2 separate regions of the Homo sapiens genome follow, and region 2 is linked to region 1. The links are contacts of gene promoters, found by promoter capture Hi-C in blood cells and fetal thymus (Javierre and others, 2016). All regions are on one chromosome and are shown on one strand. Each heading gives the region's core, a stretch centred on a gene start or on the middle of the fragment in contact. The rest is flanking DNA. Distances are from core to core; before and after follow the strand shown.

Region 1 (7,441 bases), core at 3,068-5,567:
TACTGCCAAGAGAATGAGAAGACCAGCCACAGACTGGGAGAAAATACTTGCAAAAGACATATCTGATAAAGGACTATTATCCAAAATGTACAAAGAACTCTTAAAACTCAACAATGAGAAAACAAACGACCTCATTTTAAAATGGGGTTTTAACAGAAATGAACAGACACCTCAACAAAGAAGATGGACAGATGGCAAATAAGCATACAGAAAGATACCAACATCATAAATCATTAGGGAATTGCAAATTCAAACAATGAAATACTGCTATACGCCTATTAGAACAGCCAAAATTCAAAACACTACAACTGAAATCCAAAACACTAACAACACAAAATGCTGGCAAGGATGTGGAACAATATGAACTCATTTGTTGCTGGTGGAAATGCAAAATAGTATAGACACTTTGGAAGACATTTTGGCAGTTTCTTGCAAAACTGAACACACTCTCGCTGTATGATTCAGCAATTGTGGTCCTTGGTATTTTTTTTCTTTTTTTTTCAGAGATGGGGTCTCACTCTGTCACCGAGGCAGGAATCCAGTGGTGTGATCTCAGCTCACTGCAACCTCAACCTCCCGGGCTCAAGCAATCCTCCCACCTCAGCCTCCCAAGTAGCTGGGACCACAGGCACATGCCACCATGCCCAGCTAATTTTTTGTATTTTTGGTAGAGTCAGGTTTTCACCATGTTGCCCAGGCTGGTCTCAAATTCCTGAGCTCAAGCGCTCAGTCTGCTTTGGCCTCCCAAAGTGCTGGGATTATAGGAGTCAGCCATGCCTGGCCTTCTCCTTGGTACTTATCCAAATAAGTTGAAAACCTATATCTACACAAAACCTGCACATTGATATTTATAGCAGTTTTATTTATAATTGCTAAAACTTGGAAGCCACCAAGTTGTCCTTCAGTAGGTGAACAGATAAATTCTGTGGTACATCAGCAATGGAATGTGGTACATCCAGCAATGGGATATTATTCAGCACTAAAAAGAAATGAGGTATGAAATCATGAAAAGACATGGACAAGCTTAAATGCATATTAGTAAGTGACATAAGGCAATAAGAAAAGGCTACATACTGTGTGATTCCAACTGTGTAACATTCTGGAAAAGGTAAAACTATGGAGACAGTAAAAGTAGCAGTGGTCGTAAGGATTAAGATAATGTAAAGCATTTTGTAAACTGAAAAGTAAATGAAATACCATCCCCATAGTGTTTTGGGCTTAAGAGTCTGAGGCTGGATAACTCTTTCTGTATTTTCCTGTGCTTCATAAAATTTTGGGGTGGAAGGTTAAATGGTATTTAAGAAATCCAAACATTATATTCAGAACCCCTAAGTTCCTAAATGTGCCACATTTACTGCTTTTTTGAAATGACAAAAGAAGAAAATCTTTAGAAGAGAGAGAACTCCATAAACTTAAGATTCCAAGTATGTCCAGAGCAAGACATCCAGTGTGGCTTTCCTGTTATTCCAGAATTGTGGCTGAGAACAAAAGGCACTGAGTCCACCTCCTTCTAAGAACAGTGAAGCAGCCTGAAGTTGACAGCAACCACCAGATGCAAAGCAGGTTCACTGTGCACTGGTTACCGGTTCAGCCCACTGCATTTTGGACTGCACTTTTCCTATATCCAGTGTCCAGTGACGCAGAACACTCACACACAAGTTACACGAAGTGGGTTTATTACTTACAGACAGGCAGCAAGGGACAACAGAAGCATGTCATAATGACCATATCTCCCAAGGCCGAGGAAAACTTCTTAGGGAGGATGGCGTCTCATCTGCTCGTGCACTGCTTGCACCGCAACTAAGGGACCCCAGAAAGCAGTCTGCTCTCAGTTTTTACTACAGGGCAATGGGATGTGCTGGGCTAGTACTAGTTGAAGGACATCCTATTTCTAGAAGAGACTGGAACAGAGCCTGGGCTGTTCTGGTCAGTTCCTCCTTGTCTATAGTATATTGCATTCCAACACATTCTACAGTTATTCTCGAGAACTACAAGTGAGAAAAGGGGAAGAACTGTGTTGGTTCAAGGCCCCCAGAGAACTGTTCTGTATGAGACCCTCCATCCCTAGCCTACTGACAGCTGACAGAGAAGAAAAGTGGGTACCGCCGCCCCACCACTCTTTAGGAGGCTGAACATCCTGGGAGCTAGGGGACCTGCTACTAGGAGGAAACTCTAGGAGGAAAGCAAGCAAATGTCTGGGGAGAGACGCCAGGATCTGCATGTGAGTGTGTCAGATGGACATGTGGCTAGAATCCTTTTGCTTAAGTTTGCAATTCAAAGAAATACAGGGGCCGGACGCAGTGGCTCACGCCTGTAATCCCAGCACTTTGGGAGGCCAAGGCGGGCGGATCACCTGAGGTCAGGAGTTCAAGACCAACATGGTGAAACCCCGCCTCTACTAAAAACACACAAAAAATTAGCCGGGCGTAGTGGCGGGCACCTGTAGTCCCAGCTATTCGGGAGGCTGAGGCAGGAGAACGGCGTGAACCCGGGAGGCGGAGCCTGCAGTGAGCTGAGATCGCACCACTGCCCTCCAGCCTGGGCGACTGAGCGAGACTCCGTTTCAAAAAAAAAGGAAAAAAGAAATACAGAAGATAGAGCCTGTTTGTGCCTGCACACCTGAGAGCAGGCCACGGGAACATGAGATTGATGTCTTTAATCTTGTCAGAACGGATAGACATTGGGGCAAAGAAATGAGTACGGTAGAGAAATGTGGCAACATAGTCGGCATGGGGGGTGGGGTGGGGTCTGCAGAATACGTGGCCAAATCTCAATGGGACACTGGTGTCTAGGGAGCTTCCTTAACAAGCATCATGTAGCTGCATAAACTACAGCAATGGGCAGTGAGGAAGAAGACTGTAGGCTTCCCTGATCATGGCCTTTCGCCTCTCCTTCTTTGTCCATCATCAGAGGAGCTACCGCAGAGGAGACCTGGAGAGAAAGAAGTGTGTGAAGGGTGTGCCTGGTGCCCAGCCCTCAGTTCTTCAGGCTGCACTGCCAAAGGGAGGAAAATTGCACTGCGAAAGGGAGATGGACATGAGATTCAACTTTTAAAGTAAAGTTAAATGAGTCTTAGAAACCAAAATGAGACTAGTTGAAAAAGTGACAATGTTAGAAAAATTAAGTCACATAGCCAAGACGTGAACAGATGTTTCCCAGGGGGAAAAAGAGGCTTTAGCGAACAAAGAATAGGTAGGTATTACAAAAACGCAACTGTTTACACACACACACGTGTGTAAATATGTGTGTATACGTGTGTATGTGTACAGTTGCATTTTTGTAATACCTCCCTAATCTTTATATATATACTTATATAAATATAAATGCAAATAATATAAATATTATTGTTGCACACACACATATATATGATGATAGAGGATGTAGCATGTAGGATAAACCTTGAGAAATGGGTTGGAATGTCGGCAATACCAAGTCGGGAATCAGGAATTCAGGAGAAGAGCTTGAACAAAAAGGGCAAAGACAGTACAGACTTACCGCGGGGAAGTACAAAACCATTCTAGAGGACCACGTCGAAGTCCACATGGACAGAAACATTAGGGTGTTAAAGGGGATGATAAGGCTTGGATGGGCAGTTTGCTTCAAATAGTGGCGGTCATTGAAGTCAGGCACAATTTCTATTTTTTTTCCCCACTGTAAACCTAACCCACGGCGGTTGGTCAAAGTCTTGCCGAATAAAAAAAAAAAAAAAAAAAAAGAATTAAGTGACTGGACTGCCAAGCTGTAGAGCCTCTATTAAGCAATGTACAGCCAGGAAAGGATACCTTAGATGAGAATGACATGGGTAGAGGGGTGTTTCAGGAACATGGCTAAAGAGCCTCGCTCCCAGCCTCAGCCGGGAGGCTGAATAAAGGACAGTAGCAGGATCACTCCAGCCTTTGAGGACACTTTTGGAAACCCTGGTGGATTCCCAGCATCAACACTTACTGAGGGCTGCTTTCCATCCCTAGGTTCTTTCCGGCATTTGTAATTTCCAATCCACTTAGGACACTTCTACTCCTCAGAAACCGTTTCTGTCGGGGCCGTGAGAGGAGACAGTATAAGACTTCCTGGACCCAAGGGACGCCGGGTCCCCTGGAAGCGCCCATCGCATTGAAGACCACGTGTGCCTTGCTGGGGTCCCATTCAGACAAGTCCCGGGTCGTTCGCTCATCGCCCTCCACGCGACCAGGGGGCGCCCGCGGTATCGGCCCGGCTAGTTCGCAGGCGTGCGCCTTCCCTCACTGCGCCGGAACGGGCCACGTTCTCGGACCCAGAAGCCGCGTCAGAATTCCACGCTGGCCAATCGGAACTGTCCATGTACTACTGGGGGCGGGGCTGCCAAGGGAGGAGGAAGATGGCGGCGGGGGCGAGGTGAGGTGTTGGCAGTGGAAAGGGGTTCGGGCTCGGGGGGCGGGGGGACGCGGAGCGATGGCCCGCGCCGGCCGCAGGGGCGGATAAAAAGCCGTCGCGCTGCGGGAGTGGGCGGGAGGGAGAGGGGGTGTCTGAGGGCCACAAGAGTATGACGGGGCTGTACGAGCTGGTGTGGCGGGTGCTGCACGCGCTGCTCTGTCTGCACCGCACGCTCACCTCCTGGCTCCGCGTTCGGTTCGGCACCTGGAACTGGATCTGGCGGCGCTGCTGCCGCGCCGCCTCTGCCGCGGTCCTAGCGCCGCTCGGCTTCACGCTCCGCAAGCCCCCGGCAGTCGGCAGGAACCGCCGTCACCACCGGCACCCGCGCGGGGGGTCGTGCCTGGCAGCCGCACACCACCGGATGCGCTGGCGCGCGGACGGTCGTTCCTTGGAGAAGCTGCCTGTGCATATGGGCCTGGTGATCACCGAGGTGGAGCAGGAACCCAGCTTCTCGGACATCGCGAGCCTCGTGGTGTGGTGTATGGCCGTGGGCATCTCCTACATTAGCGTCTACGACCACCAAGGTGAGGCCCGGTGCGGTGGTGGGGGGTGGCCGAGGCGTCTTGGACCGCTAGACCGCTGGTCTGGCGGGTGGTGCCCATGGCACGAGTTGCCGCGGCCTCTCTGCAAATCACAGCGCTAGCGCTTTCGAGGAAGGGAGATCAGCTTTATTGAACACCTACTAATTCTCTGGATTTGACTCAGTAGCTTTTTAACATTTTAAAAATATCCCTTGGCCGGGCGCGGTGGCTCATGCCTGTAATCCCAGCACTTTGGGAGGCCGAGGCGGACGGATCACCTGAGGTCGGGAGTTCGAGACCAGCCTGACTAACATGGAGAAACCCCGTTTCTACTAAAAATACAAGTTTAGTCGGGCGTGGTGGCATATGCCTGTAATCCCAGCTACTAGGGAGGCTGAGGCAGGAGAATCGCTGGAACCCGGGAGGCGGAGGTTGTGGTGAGCCGAGATCGCGCCACTGCACTCCAGCCTGGGCAACAAGAGCGAAACTCTGTCTCAAATAAGTAAATAAATAAATAAAAATAAATAAAAAATCTCTTATTCGTTATAATACTGCAGTAATGTAGATGGTATTTGTATACCCTTGCCAAGGTTTAAAAACATTAACTGATTTGCCCAAGGCCACAAGATCGTAATGGGGCCACAAAGATCGGAATGAGGATATTGGAATTTTAGCCATTCTGTGCTTTTTCACAATCTTTGCCTTTGGTTACACCACACTGTTTCTTTAAGAGAGCTTCCAGGCGCTGTTCTTAAGTCGCAGTGAGGCTATAGAGGACTTAGGCATGGGCTGTGTGATAGGTACTGCAAATGGGAGCGGTGGGGGTCAGGTGGTATTTGAACTGGGTTTATGAAAAATATGTGAGAGATTGGATAGGCAGAAAAGAAAATGGTCCCTTTCTGTCTTGGAAGGCTGGGATGGTTTGTGATCCTTCATCATCAGTGCCCAACACAGTACTTGATAGAATTGTCCTCTCATATGTTTTGATTGAGGGAATGAATTTCACCATAGGGAGTTTTTGTAAGTACAAAAATTCAGTACTTATTGGGTAGCTACAAACCTAAAGCACTGTGCTAGGCATATTCCTTGGAATCTTGCATTTAATTCCATGGACTCTCAGGCTTGTTAGGAGGTAGGCACACACTCACATATTTGACATGGTTAATAACAAGAAGTGTTGAGAGTAAAATTACTATTGTGAGAAGAGAGGAGAGAAATTGTGAATGAAGGAACTTGAGAAGTTCATGCAGTGGAGGTGGGATTTAAGCAGGACCTTGAAGAATAGGTAGGAGATAAGTTGAGGAATACTCAGGTTTGGGATGTCAGGTTTGATTTTCAATCAGATCTTGAAAGCATTGGAATTTCTTTAAAGATGTGAGAAGAATGATTTAAGAGTATTGGTATGAAGGGAAGAAAACAAAAGTTTTATTCTCTGTTCAATAAATTACCTGTGTGCTCTAGAGAGGCATACATCTTTGTCAGATTGGTAAATTTAAGTGCAGGGTTTTGTCAGAAAGGGAAGGCATAGGCCAGACAGTAACGCTTACAGGCTGATCTCTGATTGCCCTATCATCTTTCCTGCAGCCCGCAAGGAACATGATGACGCAGTAGCCTGTCATCACCAAATGATGATTTGCCCTATAGGGTAAAGTTTGATATATTCAGAGACTGACATTTATGGAACTTGCTAAAGAACTCAGCAGACCAATAGAAATCATGAGACTGTTAGGAGATGACACAATCCATGCCTAAACCAATGCAACCAGTTTTGCTTGGGGAAAAAAATAGGTGAAGCAAAAGTGGACATAAAGGCATTAAGCAACGTGGTGGATTGATGTACAGCCAGGTGATTCTTTTAAAGCAAGTATCTTTATCTTCCAGTAGGGAAGGAAAATGTATAGCTAAATTGTTTGACTTGATGACCGTGCCTACTAGTACAGACTATAATGTTGCCACATTTCCTTGTTTCTGCAAGTCCTGTGTTTAAATTGCTGATGTGATTCAGAAGTATCCTGTGTCATAGTTGCTAAAAGAAAAATGATTAGTAATTAAAAGGAAGAAGTAAGCTAAGCCAAGTTTTGGCTGAGAACTGAAAGGCACCTTAAGGAGCATTTTCAGTGAAAGGGCTTACAGGATTTTGTATCTTAACTGTAAAATCAGTTTTTTTGTTTGTTTTTTTTAAAAGAATAAGAAATATTCCTGAAATAAGAGACCTTCAATTAGTCCATTCTTGGTTTTGATTCGTTCATACATTCATTTACAGGTGACAGTTGGGGTCTGTTAAGTACCAGATACTCTTCCAGACATGGGAATGCAGCAGTGTACTCATGGAACTTAGATTTCAGTGGGAGTCTGACAAATAATATACGTGGGTAAATATGTGGTAATGTAAGTGCAATGAGGAAAAGTAAAGCAGAGAAGGGAAGATAGGAATGTTGAAAGTCAGTGGTGTAGGAAGGGGTACAGTTTTAAATAGGGAGGCCAAGGAGAGGCTCTTTGAATATAGACTT
Region 2 (6,542 bases), core at 3,736-6,235, 330 kb before region 1:
GGGCCACATGTGGCCCAGGACGACTTTGAATGTAGCCCAACCCAAATTCGTAAACTTTCTTTAAACATTATGAATTTTTTTAGGGAATTTTGTTTAGCTCATCAGCTATCGTTAATGTTAGTATATTTTACATGTGGCCCAAGACAGTTGTTTCAGTATGGCCCAGGGAAGACAAAAGATTGGACACCCCTGATCTAGATCGAAACTTCATCTTGTGCTCTAGTTCCCTCATTTTTCAGATAAGGAAATTTTGACAGAAATGACAGAGACAAAGTTTATCATTTTCTTCCTGTTTCCTTTCTAAAACATTACTAATTAAAGAGACAAATATTCTCTTTTATTGCCCACTCCTCAGAGTTTCAGTATGCAGTTACGGTATTATTTCCAGCTGTCCTGTCATTGTGAGATAGGCTCAAGTTGTTCAAAAGAGACAGCACTTTCTGACTATATAGCACTCATCAACCCTTGCAGAACCACAGACTTTTACTGTACTCATAGTTAGTATTTGTAGATGGCCACTCATGTACAAATGACTCTATCTTGTATTTGCAGCTTCATGATTTTCTAAATGGTCTGCCTGGAACCTGTGTTGAGCAAATGTGAAAACAGAGGAAGTTTAGAAACAAAAAGCACTGCATGAAAGTCATGAGAATTCAACCAGGAGATCTCTGTCTGCTGTCCTTCTCCCCAAACTTGAAAGAGTGGGATGGATGACTTAATGACTCCTATTCCTTCCACGGACAGCACCCTAATAGGACTGCTGTAGGGAGAAGTCAGCCCTGGGGTTTTTCTCTGCCTGGTGACATCTGGCATCTGTCTAGATCTCCATTTCTGATCAATAAAATGAGAGGCTAGGGTGTCAATTATCTCTGAAGTCTTTTCCCATTTCATTTCTTTGATAATCTTGGAAATGAACTTTACATCCTTCCTCTTGGTTTTAGACTGAACTGCATTAAGTTTACTAAAATAGATGTTATTTTAAAAGGCACTCCTCCAATTTCTCCAATTTAACTGCATTTTTATAAGGTGGCAATTTTTTAAATAGACAACAAATTATCAGAAACATGCTCAACAGAAAAAGTCCAATGAAACTATGGTCTTTGAGTTTATCAACTCAATATTCAGTGTTGTTCCACAGTTTTCATAGTTTTTATCTATAAAGTATAAGATCACAAAAATACCTTACATAATAATTTTAAACATCCTGGGGAATAACTGCATTTTAAGAAGTAGTGAGGCCATGATTATACTGATTTGCTTTTGAGTTACCACTGAACAAAACATTTCTAATTAATCTTTAAAAACACGTACACATACATAGGCCCAGAAATATACAAACATGCACATGCACATATATAATAGTTAAAATAACAAGTAGCAATTATAAAAAATTAATAATCAATTTTGAGTTTATCACCATAAAAGTCAATGTAGGCTTTCCCCATCAATGAATTAATCAGGTTAATTGATGACTTAAAATTCAGTGGGTGCTTCCTTATTGGTTAAAGCGTGAAAAGTTTTGGATGAGGAATCATTTAAAGTTTGCAAGCCAACAACAAAACTACTTTAGAATAAGCTGGTTTTATGGTTTACTTCTCTCTTGTTACTGCACAGCCCTTAAAATGATGAAAGAACATTTCTAAACAAGGTTTTGGTTTTTTCTTTCTTCAGTTCTTTTTCATTTTTTTTTCATGGAAAACACCAAGTTACTATGGACTTTAAACCAGAGAACCATGCTAACATCTAAACTAAGTAAAATATTATAAAATTAGTACACTATAACTTATACCCTTTTACATAAAGCCTTTTAAAAGCAAATTAATCTCCCTGAGAATTCTTCCCACCAGAAATTAGTCTGGATAACTCACTGCTTCTGCATGCCAAACATAAATCAATGAAAGTTGTCAAATATATTGTTTATTTATACATGAGCATGTTCTAGATGCATGAAAAAGCCCTTTCCAATTTATTCTATATCATAAAATAAAGACTTGCATTAAAAGTCTACCTTCTGTAGCTCAACCCAAAATCTGATGAGGTTAACATTCAATGGAGCCTTCCAATTAAATTGCAAACTAGTGTTCTCTGGAACCAAGGAATAAGGTTTCTCTGGTGTGTTAAACATTTCCACAGTGACAGGATGACTCTCTGTACACCACATTTCCTCAGAGTGGCAGGCAAGAACCTTTTGGTAAAAAAGAACAATTGCTTAACCTTTTGAGAGCCTTGCACTTGAGAATGACAATAAAGAGTGCCTAGTAAACTCACTGTACCTTTAACACATAAATATTTCCACCAGACAGTCTAGTAACAAGGAGAGTGAGCCTTCCATTTGGAAATTCACTTTGTCTTAGAGGAGTTTCAGGAATTAGGGCCAGGTGTGAGATTGCCAACTGATAACGGACTGATTCTTTAGGTCCATTTGGCTTGTGAGATTCTCTCCAAGATATAATGAGGCTGGTGTCTGACCGCACAGTTGTATTAATGAGCTGCACTGCCTCTGGTACTGAAATAAATAGCAAGGAATGATAAAGGATGCTGCAATAGCACTGAAAGATGGAAAGAAGTAATGGAGTTTGGGTTGAAGAGTAATCATGTGGTATGAGCAGAATAAATAACACATGTCCAGAAAGAAAGTCAGCCTCTTCTATAATCGTAGGTTAACAGACTGCCTAAAAGGCTCCCACTTATTTTTGCCCAGTGACCAAATCATTCTCTGACTCCAGCTCAAGGATATGGCCAACGGGGAATAACCCAATTTGGGTGAGTTTTGTGAATATCATCAGAGACATCTGAAATAAACGTCATCACCTCATAATAATCACCACCTCATCAGCTCTTAGAAAACCTTTTCAGACCTATTTTCTTTAAGGCTATACTGTTGCATAACTTTACAGCTCAGGCCTCAGTAAAATTCACATAGAAAAAAAGCTTGGTTTTTCTATAGCTCACCACATGTACAGAAACCTATGAGTATCTGGAAAAAGTGACACTGTGTGGTGAGACCAAATAATGTGTTTCTTGGTCAAACAATATTGATTTCAATGTTTTACCTCCTAGTTGCTTTCTATTTTAATAGAATATTATTAGTTAGCTTCAGGGGTTAGAGTAAGGGTCAGGTCAAAGTTTTCTACAAACACATTTTTCTTATTAAACTTAAAAAAGCTTACTAAAATTACTTCGCATTCAGATTTTAAAAAATAAACATCAACATACACAGCACATATATCACAATATTCTGCTTGAGAAACCCACAACAAGCCCATAACTTACCTCCATTTTTAGTTTTTCCCCAAATCTCTTTTCCTGGTGGTAAATGTTCCAAAGGATCTGAATAATAATTTTTTACAGCTATCTGTATCATGTATGTTGAAAATGGTTGTAAATCTTCAATAAGAGCTATACTGTCCTGAAATTCCTGTAATTGATTTTTTAAAAATCAACATCTTATTTTTAACATTTTATACAAATTGGTAGAAATTATTTAATCAAAGAGAGAACAAAGTTAAAGGCTCAAAAAAATTAATTTATTTTAAATTCTGGATTATTAATGGTAATACCACTGTCCAATCTACCCAGACCTGAGTTGTTCAATGTTTCCAAGAATAAATACCAAATGATTGGTAGCCTTCAGTTGGTTTTGTGGCATAAATTGTTTCACATGGGAAGTTAAATTCCTAGAAGAGGACACTATTTCATTAACATTGTATTAGAAATTCAGCAAGATGGTAGAAAACATGTGACACATATGTGAATACAATAAAATATTTTTATAGTATCTAATCACTCTTAGAAATAAAGTTTAAGAGAGTAAAAAGACTTTCCTTAGACCAATGGTTCTCAACTTTGTTTATACTTTGCTATCATCTGGGAAGTTTTAAGAAACTACTATGCCTGGGTTCTATTGCCAGAGATTCTGATTGAGTTATCTGGGGTGAAGCCTAGATGCAGAGTGTTTTGTTTTTTTTTTTTAAAGCTTCGATGTGCCGCCAAGGTTGAGAACCACTGTCTTAGACCACTGTTAATCAATGAGAAGACAATAAGATAGATTAAATTTAATAACAGACATGACCAGTGCTGCCAAGTCCAATCTTGGCCAGCCAAATGATCTATCTGAAATTACTTATTTTAGAAATGTGTAAAAAGGGTTAATTAGACAAAATTAAGGAAGGAATGAAAAATCACATACACTTTATGGGAAAACATATAGTGTTTAACATCCAACAGTTAGTCAATTTCACCTTTTGAACAGGCTAAATAAAGCCAAGCACAAAGCAAAATATTGGATATATGTGATTCCATCACTAAGACAACTGAAATACTAATGAATACATTTCATCATTTCAATGATTGAATGAATAGTGCCAATTCATTCAAGAAATAGTTAGTGAATGCCTACACAGTGCCACTAACTGTGCTAGGTGCTAGGCATACAATGATGACTAAAAACAGTATCTGCATAGCAGTATATTTCTCTGCACATAGGAAACAAAAGACAAAATATAATGTACAATTTTTATATTAGATAAATGCTGTGGAGAAGAGGTATAAGGCAATGTTCTTTCCGTCCAGTTCATTTCTTACTCTTCAATCTTCAGTCTGCTCCATAGGCTGCAAAAATAATTCTCTATCATTCTCTCTGAGGATAATTAGATAATCAGGGAGGGGAATAAACCCAATTCTTTCTGGACACTCAGAAAACGGTTACCATGGCAATCCATCAATGGGCAAGAGTTGATATACTTCCTTGAAGCTTAACTTACTCCCAGTCAAGAAAACTAGAACACAATATGTTTTGATGAATCATTAGCTGTAAAAAAGTTGCGTACTAGTCCATTTCAGAACATATAGGAAATACTTTACTATGGCTCATAATTTTATATCAAAAAAGAACATCTTGTGAAAAGACAAAGACCACTAGTTCCAATCTTACCAGAATTCTATATTTCAAGTCAGAGCTGTTTTTCCTGTCATTAACTTCTGCATAATAAACCAGGTATGTTGGAGTAGGGCTGGTGATGCCATACCATGTGAGGTTTGTCTTGGCCAGAGGTAATCTGATTGTGAGGCTAGTGTTAGTGGCATTAAGTATAGTTGGTTCCACAGTGTCTGAAGCTAGAGACAGAAACGCTTTATCTAAAATAAGAAGAAACCAAAAGATTAAATATCTATACTATATATATGAGAGGAAAAGCAGATTTTTAACAAGAATAATATCAAAGCTTAGAAAGAAATTTGTAGAGCATACATAACTTTTGCTTGAAAACATAAATATGAAAATGATTTGAAATAATATTCTCTTTGAAGAAACAAAAATGGCTGCAGCTTGATACTGTGTGTAGTATGTGTAGTATGTACTGCTACAGTCTACCCAATGTCCTCTCCTTTTCTTCAAGTTCATATATATCTGATATTGTTCAGGGCAGTATGCTGGGAGGAAAAACTGTTTCTGAAGTTTGATTGCAGCCCAGACAATCATGTGACACGGTCTGGTTAGTCAGATGTGCTTATCACTGTGGCGCACCTCTGTCCTTCACCCTCCCCCAACCCAGGAGGCGGACACTATGCAAGAGGGGCGGCAGCCATCTTGTGAGAATTGAATAAAGGACTCACTAAGGATGTTTGGGGAAAGATCAAGTCCAGGTGATTGATGGCATTGTGGAGCTCCCTGGCCACCGCTTACAACCAAACACCTTGCACGCTGCACAACTCCAGGGAGCCCCAGTCACAGAGACTACAATGGAAATGGTCTGTTCTAGACCAGTGCAGTAGCGCAACCATACCGCAGGCTTAAGCCTCGAAAAATCGCAGATCTGTCACTTGCAGCTGAACACAACTTCTTGACCTATTCACTCTCAGTCTTTATGTAAAACATCACCTAAAAATGTAGCATAATTACATAATATGCAAATAACTCCAAATATGATTTTAATATGAAATCTAACAATCTTACACCAGTTAGCCAACTCTTTAACTCATTGTGCGTGGCACTGTGCAATCTGGCTCCTGCCCGCATATCCAGTCTCTGCTATGCAAAGCCATCCTTCACTCTAACCACAGTACACTATCTACACACTGCAGGACTTCTACCCCTCCAACCCTTCACATAGGTAGTCTCTTCAGGTTGGAATGATCTTCCCCATCTGCCTAACCTTACTTAAGCCTCAATTCATGCATCATTTTTCCTGGGAAGCCCTTTCTGCCTTCCTATTCCAGGTGAAGGACATCTCCTCTCTGTCCTCACTCCACTTCACGTGTTCTTCTACCAGTGCACTAGCCACATGTGATTTTGGTTTTGGTTTTCTTTTGCTGCTTTCTTTTCTTCATCTAGCACTAGAATGTAACTATCTTTGGCTGAGACTGTGCTTGAATTATCTTTGTTCCACCAGAGCCCCAGGAGGGTGCCTGACATATATTAGGTATTTAGTATGTGTTGTCGATCCTTATGAATTCATATTAGCCACATATAAAATACAACCTTTGCATTCAGCAAGTAAGAAAATTAGGGGGTAAATGTCTAAGTGACAAAAACTTGATGAAGC

Evidence for each region. The method cuts DNA at HindIII sites, captures the fragments that hold promoters and counts their contacts. A CHiCAGO score of 5 or more calls a contact.
Region 2: a fragment that was not itself captured here is called in contact with the fragment with the promoter of NUS1 in region 1 in 1 of 17 cell types (endothelial precursors); the score reaches 5.9 in endothelial precursors.

What each region holds. Positions count from the first base shown.
Region 1 is chr6:117,671,152-117,678,592 of GRCh38, forward strand. NUS1 (NUS1 dehydrodolichyl diphosphate synthase subunit) reads left to right here and starts at 4,318. Exons shown (of 5, transcript NM_138459.5): 1 at 4,318-4,934. The coding sequence starts at 4,520. It overlaps LOC101927919 (a long non-coding RNA gene), which reads right to left and starts at 4,133. Exons shown (of 3, transcript NR_110854.1): 1 at 3,946-4,133; 2 at 3,496-3,684; 3 at 1,662-2,931. The HindIII fragment of the contact is 6,476 bases long and covers 1,022-7,441 here.
Region 2 is chr6:117,339,127-117,345,668 of GRCh38, forward strand. ROS1 (ROS proto-oncogene 1, receptor tyrosine kinase) reads right to left here. Exons shown (of 44, transcript NM_001378902.1): 28 at 4,934-5,136; 29 at 3,274-3,418; 30 at 2,274-2,506; 31 at 2,009-2,185. Among named protein-coding and RNA genes, the nearest start is that of VGLL2, 77 kb to the left of the region's middle. The HindIII fragment of the contact is 469 bases long and covers 4,752-5,220 here.